Linked DNA regions of Homo sapiens: regions 2, 3 and 4 are each linked to region 1. Evidence: promoter capture Hi-C in human tissues and cell types (Jung and others, 2019). All regions are on one chromosome and are shown on one strand. Each heading gives the region's core, a stretch centred on a gene start or on the middle of the fragment in contact. The rest is flanking DNA. Distances are from core to core; before and after follow the strand shown. Region 1 holds the start of BMP3 (bone morphogenetic protein 3). Region 2 overlaps CFAP299 (cilia and flagella associated protein 299). Region 3 overlaps CFAP299 (cilia and flagella associated protein 299). Region 4 overlaps CFAP299 (cilia and flagella associated protein 299).

Region 1 (2,928 bases), core at 192-2,691:
ATCAACTCCATTGCCCTACAGAGGGGAAGAGGGATAAATGCAATAGACATTGACTGAAGATTTTACTGCATATGGTCAAGAACTGCACTAAACATTTACATGGATTGCACACTGAAACTTCAGTTTAAATGCTAATTTCACTATTAATAGTGTGGTTATCTGGCCTGAGGCCAGAAATCAGACTCCCTGAATTTGGATCTCAGTTCTGTCACTTACTATGTATCCTTTTGCCTCAGTTTCCTCATCTGTAAAATGGGTTTTGCTGTGAAAATTATTTGGTAATATACTTGAAATATAAATAACAAGGCATGTCTAGAGCATAAGTGTGGAGAAAAATGTTAGCTCACAGTTGTTTTTTGTTTGTTTGTTTGTTTTTTGTTTTGAGACAAAGTTTGCTCTGTCACCCAGTCTGGAGTGCAGTGGCACAATCTCGGCTCACTGCAACCTCCATCTCCTGGATTCAAGCCATTCTCTTGCCGCAGCCTTCCCAGTAGCTGGGATTACATGTGCGCACCACCACGCCCAGCTAATTTTTGTATTTTTAGTAGAGATGAGGTTTCACCATGTTGGCAAGGCTGGTCTCGAACTCCTGACTTCGTGATCCACCCGCTTTGGCCTTCCAAAGTGCTGGGATTACAGGCCTGAGCCACTGCGCCAGGCTGCTCATAGTTTAATCTCCATTGTACAGCCATGACAAGAGAGAATTAGGAAGACAAAGCTAGCGACTCTTACATTCTGTTCCGGACTCCGGGATCTTCCACACACCCTTGTTTTTAGCCACCACTGCACCATCCTGCTGGGAAACCTTTTGGGGACCTGTAGGAAGGAAACCTTTGGGGGAAGCTGTAGGTGGGGTTGTGGTGTGTTTGCTTGTTTTCTTATTTGTTTTTAACATGATATTGACTCGCACATATTTCTCACCTCGAGAGAAGATGATGCGGGAGAGAGGGGCGTTATGATGGGTATGCTCTCAGAAAGACAGGAAGCTATGATGACGGGCTGCAGGTGCAGGGGCCCGCAGTGTCCGTCAGAAGAGGCTCGGGAAAGTAAGCGAGAATGGTGTTCACGTTGTGACTTTGTTTGGAATCATAAGACCGAAAAGCCAGGAAGAAGTTCTGTTTTCCTCTGCCCTCTTGCTAGCCACCACACAGCCACTGTTCTTGGAGAATTAAAAAAAAAAACAAACAAAAACAAAACAAAACAAAACAAAAAAACCGTCCCTCCTACCATTTCTTTAGTCCTGAATCTCCTTTTCCCTTCCTCTCCCCAGCCATCCCCACCCCTACTTCCTCTTCTCTCCCTCCCGCTGCCAGTTCTCTGGTTACTCCCCCCCTCCCTTGCTTCTATCCCAGCCTGGTGCAAGCTAAGAGGGCGAGGACGAGGGAGTGGGAGAGATTGGCTGAGGACTCTACAGATCAGCTAGAGAGCGAAAGAACTAAGTCTCTCTCTCTCATACACACACACACACGCACACACGCGCGCGCGCGCGCGCACACACACACACACGTACACTAAAAAACTCGGACCAGCCGCGCCGCAGCTGCTCCAATCCCTGGAAAAGGCAATCGAGCGCCCTCCGGACCGCTGCGCACAGCCCCGGCTCCGACCTGGCGCCCAAAACAGAGCTAGTCCTAGTCCCTCGCGCGGCCAGTTTGGCCGGGTGTTCCCAAAAATAAAGCGAGGAGGGAAGGTACAGACAGATCTTGAAAACACCCGGGCCACACACGCCGCGACCTACAGCTCTTTCTCAGCGTTGGAGTGGAGACGGCGCCCGCAGCGCCCTGCGCGGGTGAGGTCCGCGCAGCTGCTGGGGAAGAGCCCACCTGTCAGGCTGCGCTGGGTCAGCGCAGCAAGTGGGGCTGGCCGCTATCTCGCTGCACCCGGCCGCGTCCCGGGCTCCGTGCGCCCTCGCCCCAGCTGGTTTGGAGTTCAACCCTCGGCTCCGCCGCCGGCTCCTTGCGCCTTCGGAGTGTCCCGCAGCGACGCCGGGAGCCGACGCGCCGCGCGGGTACCTAGCCATGGCTGGGGCGAGCAGGCTGCTCTTTCTGTGGCTGGGCTGCTTCTGCGTGAGCCTGGCGCAGGGAGAGAGACCGAAGCCACCTTTCCCGGAGCTCCGCAAAGCTGTGCCAGGTGACCGCACGGCAGGTGGTGGCCCGGACTCCGAGCTGCAGCCGCAAGACAAGGTCTCTGAACACATGCTGCGGCTCTATGACAGGTACAGCACGGTCCAGGCGGCCCGGACACCGGGCTCCCTGGAGGGAGGCTCGCAGCCCTGGCGCCCTCGGCTCCTGCGCGAAGGCAACACGGTTCGCAGCTTTCGGGCGGCAGCAGCAGGTGAGTGCGCGAGGTGAGACTCCCTTCCCGCGGTCCCGCCCCAGCTTTCTCCCGGGACCCCCCACAGCTTCCTTGTCTGCCCCTTGCTTGGTGGCGCTGCCTAGGGACCTTTCTCCGCCCTCCTCAGCTGCCCTCTGGATTCCTCCGTCCAGTCACACCCCGCGTGTCGCCAGCTGCATCTCCTGTAAGCCCAGTTTTCAAATCCAAAGTGAGAGGGGGAAATAGAATGAAGGCGCGGAGCAGTGGAGGGGTAGGCTGGAGGAGCTTCGTGGAAAAAGGGAAGGGGCGACACCCCATGCCTGTGAGGCCTCCTGCCCTGAGTGACTGGAGCACCTCTAGGGTACCTTATTCTGTTGATTCCTAAATCGGCCAGCGGAAATTCCTTTGGACTGGGCTTTAGCCATGTTTACTAAGAGGCAGATGCCATTTTATGCCAATGCCAGGACCCGAGAGAAATCATACTTGAATAAGACGCCTTCCCCTCTCCTTTTCTCCTTCCCCAGTCGCTTCTCCAGATATTGCACCCGCTCCTAATTCGCGCCCTTTGTGTTACTGTACTATATTTGACACTTTACTTGATAGTTCCTTAGTGGC
Region 2 (2,700 bases), core at 125-2,624, 310 kb before region 1:
TTATTCCAGGAAAAAAATATCAATTCTGACACATGACAATTTCTTATAATTGCATTTAATCAAAGAGTTTATGTTCAAGCTACCTAGAGTTCTTACTGAATTCCACAGGGCTGACTCTTGGCAAGTTTAGGAGTACCGATAGTCTTACTAAAACCTCACAATTTTCCAGGTAGTTCCCTGTCTTACCCAATAAATCTTAGTTTCTCTTCTCAAAAGTTATTAGACTTCCTGGGCAGAGTACCAAGTTGGGCAGATGTTTTGAAGATGTTCTGATCAATCCAAATTAGGAAATAGGTGTTTGAAGTTCACTATATAAACACAATGATTCTGAAACTTGGCTATGTGATTTGGTTGGAACATAGTAAAGAAATACAAAGCATTTTGCTGCCTCCATATAACCCAACCTTGTTTAAGAGAGGGGGAAAAAGGACAAGTTGGCTTACCTCAGATATGTTGATTTCCCTATAAATTCTGGCAATGCTTAGGTCTATTTGCTGCTGATAATAACAGATCAAGCAATACTTTCCACAAAAAGGTTTGTTTTGTTTTGTGATGGCAGACATTTTTTTCTTGTTTCTGATGTGGTAATAGCAAACCTTTTAATTTCCTGAGGGTTGTCATAAATATTGCACTTCTGAAAGACCAAAATGGGTCTACACTTTGTGTTATCAAAGAAATATATTCAATTTACCATCAAATTAGTTAACATTATGGCATATGCTTTTTAGAAATAAAAAATTATTTTCAAAAAACAAAAACTGGTTTAAAATATATAAAATGTACGTTTTTCTTTTAAATGCATTTTCTCTTAAATATTGACTATATGAGTAAAGCACAAAGTCTTTTGTGCTATTGGCCATTTGATGGAATTTGATGATTTTTAAGACAACTCGCAATTATCACCACCATTTTATTGATGGAAGTTTCAAATTAAGGGCTGTAATGCTGATAAATGTAGAGCAGTGTTCAAAAGTCAAGTCCAATATTGTTTTCATCAAACCTTCTTGAATTCGCCTTCATTTTAAGAATAACCATGGAAAAGCAAACTTTCAGTGTAAACAATTGTTATTTTTCTGGGAATCCAATTTGATTTTTAATATGTCTAAATCTGAAAAAAATCCTTCAAACTAACTAGGATAATGTTGATAGAATTGAAAGAATTTGGGAGTAGTTACCTAAAAGCTATAAACCCACAAATACAAATAAAGAAGAAAACAAAGCTTGCTCAGTAAAATAAGTACAGGGTAAGAAAATAGGGATAACTGTGTTAACAATCTTTTTAAAATTTTGAAGTGTTATATTATTGCAATATGACTTCCATGTGGATATCTTGCTTGCTCTTCCCATGACCTCATGAGAGAAACAAGGCACGTAGTATTTTCACTTTGCAGATGAGAAAAATGAGATGTAGAAAATGTACATAATCTATTGCCTGATAGCAAGTGAATGTCAATAAGGATAGTATTGATATATTCTATATATATATAATATATTCTATAAGATATATCCTAATATATTCTATAAGACAGATCAATTTGGGCTTCAGTTGAGTTCACTGATGACACATGATACACCCATGGAAAAACACACACAATCAAATTGTGCCTTGCTTCAAAATATTCACTCCCAATGTGCAAGCTTACATTACATTTGTATGCATCGTTGTTCTTCCACTAACAAGCTAGATGATTTGGCTCTAGTTGTGATATATTTTGTAGCTTACTTCTTTATTTATAATGCAAATGAGCATCCTGCCCCATTAAAGTTTGTACCACTGAGTGAAATTACATGATAAAGCACCTGTCTTTTATCGTGGTACATAGGTACTTCTTTACAAACCAGTTTAGTTGAATCTGAATATGTATATACATAATGTATAGCTGTGGATTAGGGAGTCCTAGCTGGTTCCAAAGCAGTGCCAATTCAGATGATCTCTGATGGTCTGTGGTGATTGTCAGTGATAGAGAGGTTGCCCAGGAATTGCAACCTACTGAAAACCTTTGAAGGAATGTGTTTTCTGATTTTCTGGTGTCTACTTCAGACACAAGTTCTAGAGATGTCTCTGGCCCTAAATTTAAACCTGCACAACTATTGGGAAATGTATTCATTTACCCATTCATTTATTTAATATTTATTGAGTAACCAATGTTGTGTAAAATAATCTGCTCAGTGCTGGGGCTACACCAATGAATACGACAGATACGTTTTTCCTTTTTTATGAAGTTTTCAATATGTCAGGAAGAAATATAACCACACAATAACTATGAAAAAAATGTGATGAATACTATGATAGGGTAAACTAAGGTGGGGTGGTGACATAGGACCACTTAGAGGAGTATCTGACCTACCCTAAAAGGGATGGTCTCCCTTTGTAAGTGAGCATGTGTAAGCAGAAAACTGAAGGATGAGTTGAGTTTGGCTGCTTTTAAATAAGAGAAGAGAACCAGAACGTCTGGCAATGATTTTCTCTTGTACAGTTCCAGCTTCTCCCATGACATTTGAGATATACAAAGTCATATTTGAATGCTTTGTTATGACCGCTGTTACTGGAAATAAATTCAGGTCAGCAGAAATCACATATGACTACTAGTCTTTTTCCAACTACTGGTAGAAAAAACATCTAAAGTCCTGAATTCCCCCAAAATGTATTCCAGACAGGCCTTTAAGTTATTTATGTCTCAGGATCATTGTTTCAAAAAA
Region 3 (2,700 bases), core at 136-2,635, 380 kb before region 1:
CAGAGTTTTCTCTGAAGAAATATCCTAGGGAAGTTCTCCCCAGCGTCATACAAATAAACTTGAGTTCTCAAATCCGACTCGCCTCCAATGCAAAGTTGACGTGCCTATGCCTTATTGCCCTGGAATTGCATACTCATGCTCCATGTTTTCCACATAGGGAATCAGGAAGTATAGTAAGTTCATCTTTGAAAGCTGTTAATAAAAGAAGTAGAGTCCCCTCCTCTTGTATTTCTCATGTGAATTTAGAGACAATGTACCCTGCTTTTGTTGTCTGCTTAAAACTGTGAAGTGATGGTTTCCATCCTACATCTCTTTTCTCAGGTCCAAACCTCTGTATTCAGCTATATGCACACTTGTATATCAGATATACATAAAACTGAATGCATAGTTTTTCATACTTATCCAAAACCTCCTCTTTCTGTCCCACATTTTGACAAACGGCAGATCTACTGTCTGATGGTTCAGGTAAGGCACACAGGAGATATCCTAAAGCCATTTCCTCCTCACCTCTCCATTTTTAGTGATGTTTCCTTTGCCATCTGTCTCCTTTTCTCCATCCCTCTGTTGTAGTTTAGGGCTTCATTTTTACTCAACTGGATTATGTATACAGTACAAAAATTTAAAAAATTACAAATGGCCTCCTACTGATCTATAATGTCATCTACTCAAATATGCTTTCTACCCAAGGTGAACACTATAGCATATTCTTCTGTCAATGCCATTCTCCTGTTCAAAAATTACAGTGTCTTCTCATTGTCCTTATCAGTGGTCCCCAAACACATACCTCAGAGGGACAGAAAGATGAGCAAGTAAAGTGTATGAAAAAAACATATTAGCACTTCCATTTATATTCGTTTTGAATGTAACACAAGGACACAATGCTTTATATAATAAAAGGATAGTATCAAGAAAAACTTCATTTTACATTAAAATGTGTTTGAAGCATACAATACATTTTTAAGTATTTTCACCAAAACCATTGTCTATCACTTGAAATACTAAATTCTAATATTGAAAAAATTTTCATAGTCTTAAGATGTTATTCGTGTTAAACAATAATGTAGTAGTCTTTTCTTGCTGGACATTTCATATGAGTGTTTTATACAATGATTTACTGCCATCAAGTTTGTGTCCTATTTGTTCATACATCTTTAATATGTGTTTATATATATGTGGGTATGCATATCATGCTAATATAATGTGGTGGGAAAGAACTAATGCATTGAGCTGAGTTTATTTCAGATGCTTGCTCTGCAGTTATGACATTTGGGTTATACAGTTTGCTCAAATTATGGCTAACCTGTTAAAAAGCTCCATGACATTGCGGTACTGGGGAATGATGGGCAGTTTCTTAAAGCTTAAAGATTAATATGATCAATAGTAGCAATACATTATTGAATTCATGTTTTACAAATCTTTGTGTCTTTTTAATTGCCTGTGTTCAAAATAGATAAAGTGCATTCAGTTATTTTTTATGCCCTCAGGATAAAGGCACCTGGGAGTTTTACTCAGAGCAGATATTTTGGTGGTATTTATTGGTCTGGAAGATTTCTCATGGAATTTTCTGTAAACTCTGTTGCTCCAATGTCTGGATAGTATGTTTATAGTTCTTGGGCTTTCTTCCTTTCTTCAGCCTTTAGGGTAACTGTGTTTTAGGTTTCATTAATCTATTGTAACATTTTCTGTTCTAAATGAATGATTATTTGAAGGCAAAATGCCATCAGAAATTAAAATAAACACATAACTGTAAGCATGTCCACAGATCCACCTTCTATATTGCACTGAGTTAATAATTTGTGCAATTCAATATTCATTATTCTAAGCTTTTTGAGATGAGGGAATGGGTCTGACTCAGTTGCTTAGGCTGAAATGCACAGGCAATGATCATAGATCATAGCTTACTGCAATCTCCTGGGCTTAAAGAATCCTTCCACTTCAACCTCCTGAGTAGCTGGGACTATAGGCATGCATGCCACCATGCCGAGCTAATTTTTAACTTTTTTTTTTTTTTTTTTTTGGTAGAGACGAGGTCTCTTTCTATGGCTCAGGCACTAATAGCCTCAAGCAATCCTCTTGCCTTGGCCACCCAAAGTGCTGGAATTATAGGTAGTAACCATCATACCTAGCTATTCTAACTTACTATTTTTAAAAAATTAAAATATGTATTTTCATCTGTTGAAGTAACAAACATCCACACACTTTTATTTCCTAGTCTCTTTAGTCAGACCCACAAAATGTAATATTTTAATAAAAGACATTAAGAGTGAATTCTAGGGCGATGCCAGTTAATTAATAATACTTAATCTTTTACCTTTATTTAAAAATAATTCTCTAGGAGTTTGTGTACTATACAGAATAAATGACAGACAGTCAAAACTTTCGGTGAGACTGATTGACTACAATAGGTATTATCCATTTAATTATCCATAACATATCGGTTGTGCATTTACTATTTCCAGTAATCTAATTTCTGGCTAAGCAATCTCTCTAACATTATGACAAGAAAATATTTAAGATGAAGTAAAAGTAACACTGAAAAATACAAAAATAAGCTATCGTCTATTGCTGCCGGATACAATATGATGAAATACTGATTTTAAAAGAAATATTCTGGAATCATGACAGGAAATGTATTTTATATATCTTAAACTCAAGTCTGTAAAAGCTAGAATGGGTACACAGAATTGGTATGGTAAGTGG
Region 4 (2,765 bases), core at 154-2,653, 390 kb before region 1:
AGGATTAAAAAATAAAGCTTTCTCTGAAACCTTCCTCCTTCTTTAGAAGTACAGACAGGGATTAGAGAGGAAGAAAGTGACACCTGCCTAGCTGGCCAGATCAGCAGCCTTAACTTTCAGGTGGCCTTAAACTTCATGTGACTCTTTATTGTATCCTCAGACCCTTCCTTTTCAATATTAAAAGGTCATCTATGAGTAAATGGAGCATTTCATTTGTAACCACTCAGAAGTGTTACTGAGTAATTATAAAAGTTTATTTTTCAAAGAAAAGCAATAAAGTTTACAAACGAGAATTTTTAAGATTAAAAAAATCTTACAAGTGTTAGCATTATGCTTCTTTGCATTTGTTCATAAATAGTCAAAGGACTGCTCAAGTGACTATAAAAATATTAGAGATTGATAGCATCTGCCTAGACTAAACTCTTTCAAATTATAAATGACGATGCTCAGATACGTTAAGACATGCCTAAAGTGACATGGCTGGTAGAAAAGTGTTCTAAATCAACATATCTTGGTATCCTATATTTATGACTTGTATAATACCTCTTATAGACTGAGATAGAGCAGGAGCTGGCAAACAATTGCTCATGGGTCAAACCCAGCCTACCTAATGTTTTATCGGTACTCAGCTGTACTCATTCATTTACCTATTTTCTATGGCTGCTTTTGCACCAAATGGCAAAGTTGACTAATTGTAACAGAAACTGTATGGCCAACAAAACCTAAAATATTTACTTGTTCCTTGTAGAGAAAGTTTGTCCACCCCGAGTACAGAAAATTAAGGTATAGGTATATATTAGAAAATAAAAAATTGAAGTTTTTAAAAAAGTATTGTTCACAAAAATAATAATCAGAATTAAAGAAAAAAGTTTTGTTCAATGTACCTATCAAATAATTGTTTGAAACTCCACTCTGAATCAATAAATAAAACAAAGACTATGAAACAAAAAAGACTATGTTCATCTATGGATGCTACAAAGAATAGTTCTATCATAAATTACTTTTGTTCATTTTTTGTAAAGATCAAGAACCTAAGTCCCACTATATAATGTTTAATAAAGATAAAGTGTTGGTTTAGAAGGTCTATAAAAGAGGTATGGTTAATATCCCCTAAATTGTATGCCAACAAAATAGAGGGAAAATGAGAAAAATATGCCATTGTCAGCAAGGTATAATAGATATAATATAATGTACAGTAAAAGGAGAAGTGATAGACATGCAATTTTTTTCCTGTGAAATGCCCTGACTTTGGAAAGAAATGGTTGTCAATGCCTGTGCATTTCCTTGACAGATTATGCCAGACTGCACAATGGCAGCATTTGTCTTTGGTCTGTGGACCTAAGACAGTTGCTATCGGTGGAACCTTTTTCTGTACAGGTAATAACAAGGTGGTCAGTCATGCAACCCAAAGATCGAGTTTAAAGTTAAAATTAAAGAGGAATTCCCAGCACTATAGCATTTCATTTTATGTAAGGCTCTCCACCAGCCAAACTCGTTTACTTGTCATAGCTACCCAAATGAGAATACAAGGTTGACATGAAAGATGCAAACATGTAAGGTAGTCTCATTCCATAGAAAAGGACCTAACAGAAACACTAGAACAAACCTATTAGATGACTTAAAAGAATAATAAAAAGAGTAATTAACAAAAGCATATAACCTCTATCATGTCCTTCAAAAACTAACATGTGCAAACAGTAGTTCAACTTGAGGTCACGTTGCCTTGCTTCCAACTCTTCACTAGAGAAGCCTCATTTAAAGTCAGTACAATCTCTGTATTTCTTTTGTCACACAAAGTTGACTATCCTAAAATATTTAATTTAAAATATCCTGGTTGATTTCTAGCAATAAAGAAAATATTTTTTATTAACTTTCTACATGTAATTAGCATTTTATGTGAGAGAAAATTTGGTGGCTACAGGAAATCTTCAAGTGTTCAGAGTTCAAGGAGATCCAGCTCATCAAATCCTTTTTTATTGACAGATGAGAAACTGAGACTCAGAAAGCCTCATTGCCAGAGTCACACAGAGAGTAGGAACATGGCTGGTAGACCAGAAACAAGTAACTTCAACTTCCTGCTGCAGGCCCTTTTCACAGTGCCATCCTGATCCCCCTACTTGGAGAACTTTTATTCAGTTTTAGTAATGGGGTGTGGAAGGGAGCTAATTTATGCCAACGGGCTCCAATTTGAGAACATTTTCTTCAACATTTGAAGATTATGATGCACTTTATCGATATATGAATTTGTGATCATATAAGCTGTGAAGCCTATTTAGCCATGCTTCTTGGGTCTAGTGATAGGTCTCCCTTGATGAGAATGCAAGGTTGACATGAAAAATACACAGAAGTAACATAGCCTTATTTCAAAGAAAAGGAACTAGAGATCTCCGAAATCAGAAACACTAGAGCAGGCCTATTCAATGACTTAAAACACGGAGTCCAACACTTGAGTCATGCTTCCCTGAGAATATAAGGATGCAGCTACAGGTCACAGTTTAACTGCCTGGATTGTGTCCCTGACTAGAGTTTCTGGATTATCACAATGATCATATTTTCTGATGGTAAGTTCTATTATTCTCTTTTAGTTCCTGTTAAATTCAAAGTCCAACAACAATGCCAAGTGTGATCCATCATGGGTGCCTGCAGTCACTCTTAGGTTCAGCGAATATTTTAGGGCACTCAATATGTATTAGGTTGTCTGCTCATGCTGCTATAACAAAATACCATGGATGGGCAGCTTAAACAACAGAAATTTATTTTCTCAC

The links. The method cuts DNA at HindIII sites, captures the fragments that hold promoters and counts their contacts. A contact is called where the count stands out against the background at its distance.
Region 2: a fragment that was not itself captured here is called in contact with the fragment with the promoter of BMP3 in region 1 in 1 of the 25 tissues and cell types used here (IMR-90 fibroblasts).
Region 3: a contact is called between a fragment that was not itself captured here and the fragment with the promoter of BMP3 in region 1, in 1 of the 25 tissues and cell types used here (H1 embryonic stem cells).
Region 4: a fragment that was not itself captured here is called in contact with the fragment with the promoter of BMP3 in region 1 in 2 of the 25 tissues and cell types used here (H1 embryonic stem cells and IMR-90 fibroblasts).

The regions. Positions count from the first base shown.
Region 1 is chr4:81,029,267-81,032,194 of GRCh38, forward strand. BMP3 (bone morphogenetic protein 3) reads left to right here and starts at 1,442. Exons shown (of 3, transcript NM_001201.5): 1 at 1,442-2,334. The coding sequence starts at 2,019. The HindIII fragment of the contact is 7,363 bases long and covers 1-2,928 here.
Region 2 is chr4:80,714,907-80,717,606 of GRCh38, forward strand. All of the region lies in intron 3 of CFAP299 (cilia and flagella associated protein 299), which reads left to right. Among named protein-coding and RNA genes, the nearest start is that of BMP3, 310 kb to the right of the region's middle. The HindIII fragment of the contact is 4,552 bases long and covers 1-2,700 here.
Region 3 is chr4:80,652,788-80,655,487 of GRCh38, forward strand. The region is part of intron 3 of CFAP299 (cilia and flagella associated protein 299); the gene reads left to right. Among named protein-coding and RNA genes, the nearest start is that of CFAP299, 320 kb to the left of the region's middle. The HindIII fragment of the contact is 4,846 bases long and covers 1-2,700 here.
Region 4 is chr4:80,636,121-80,638,885 of GRCh38, forward strand. All of the region lies in intron 3 of CFAP299 (cilia and flagella associated protein 299), which reads left to right. Among named protein-coding and RNA genes, the nearest start is that of CFAP299, 300 kb to the left of the region's middle. The HindIII fragment of the contact is 7,577 bases long and covers 1-2,765 here.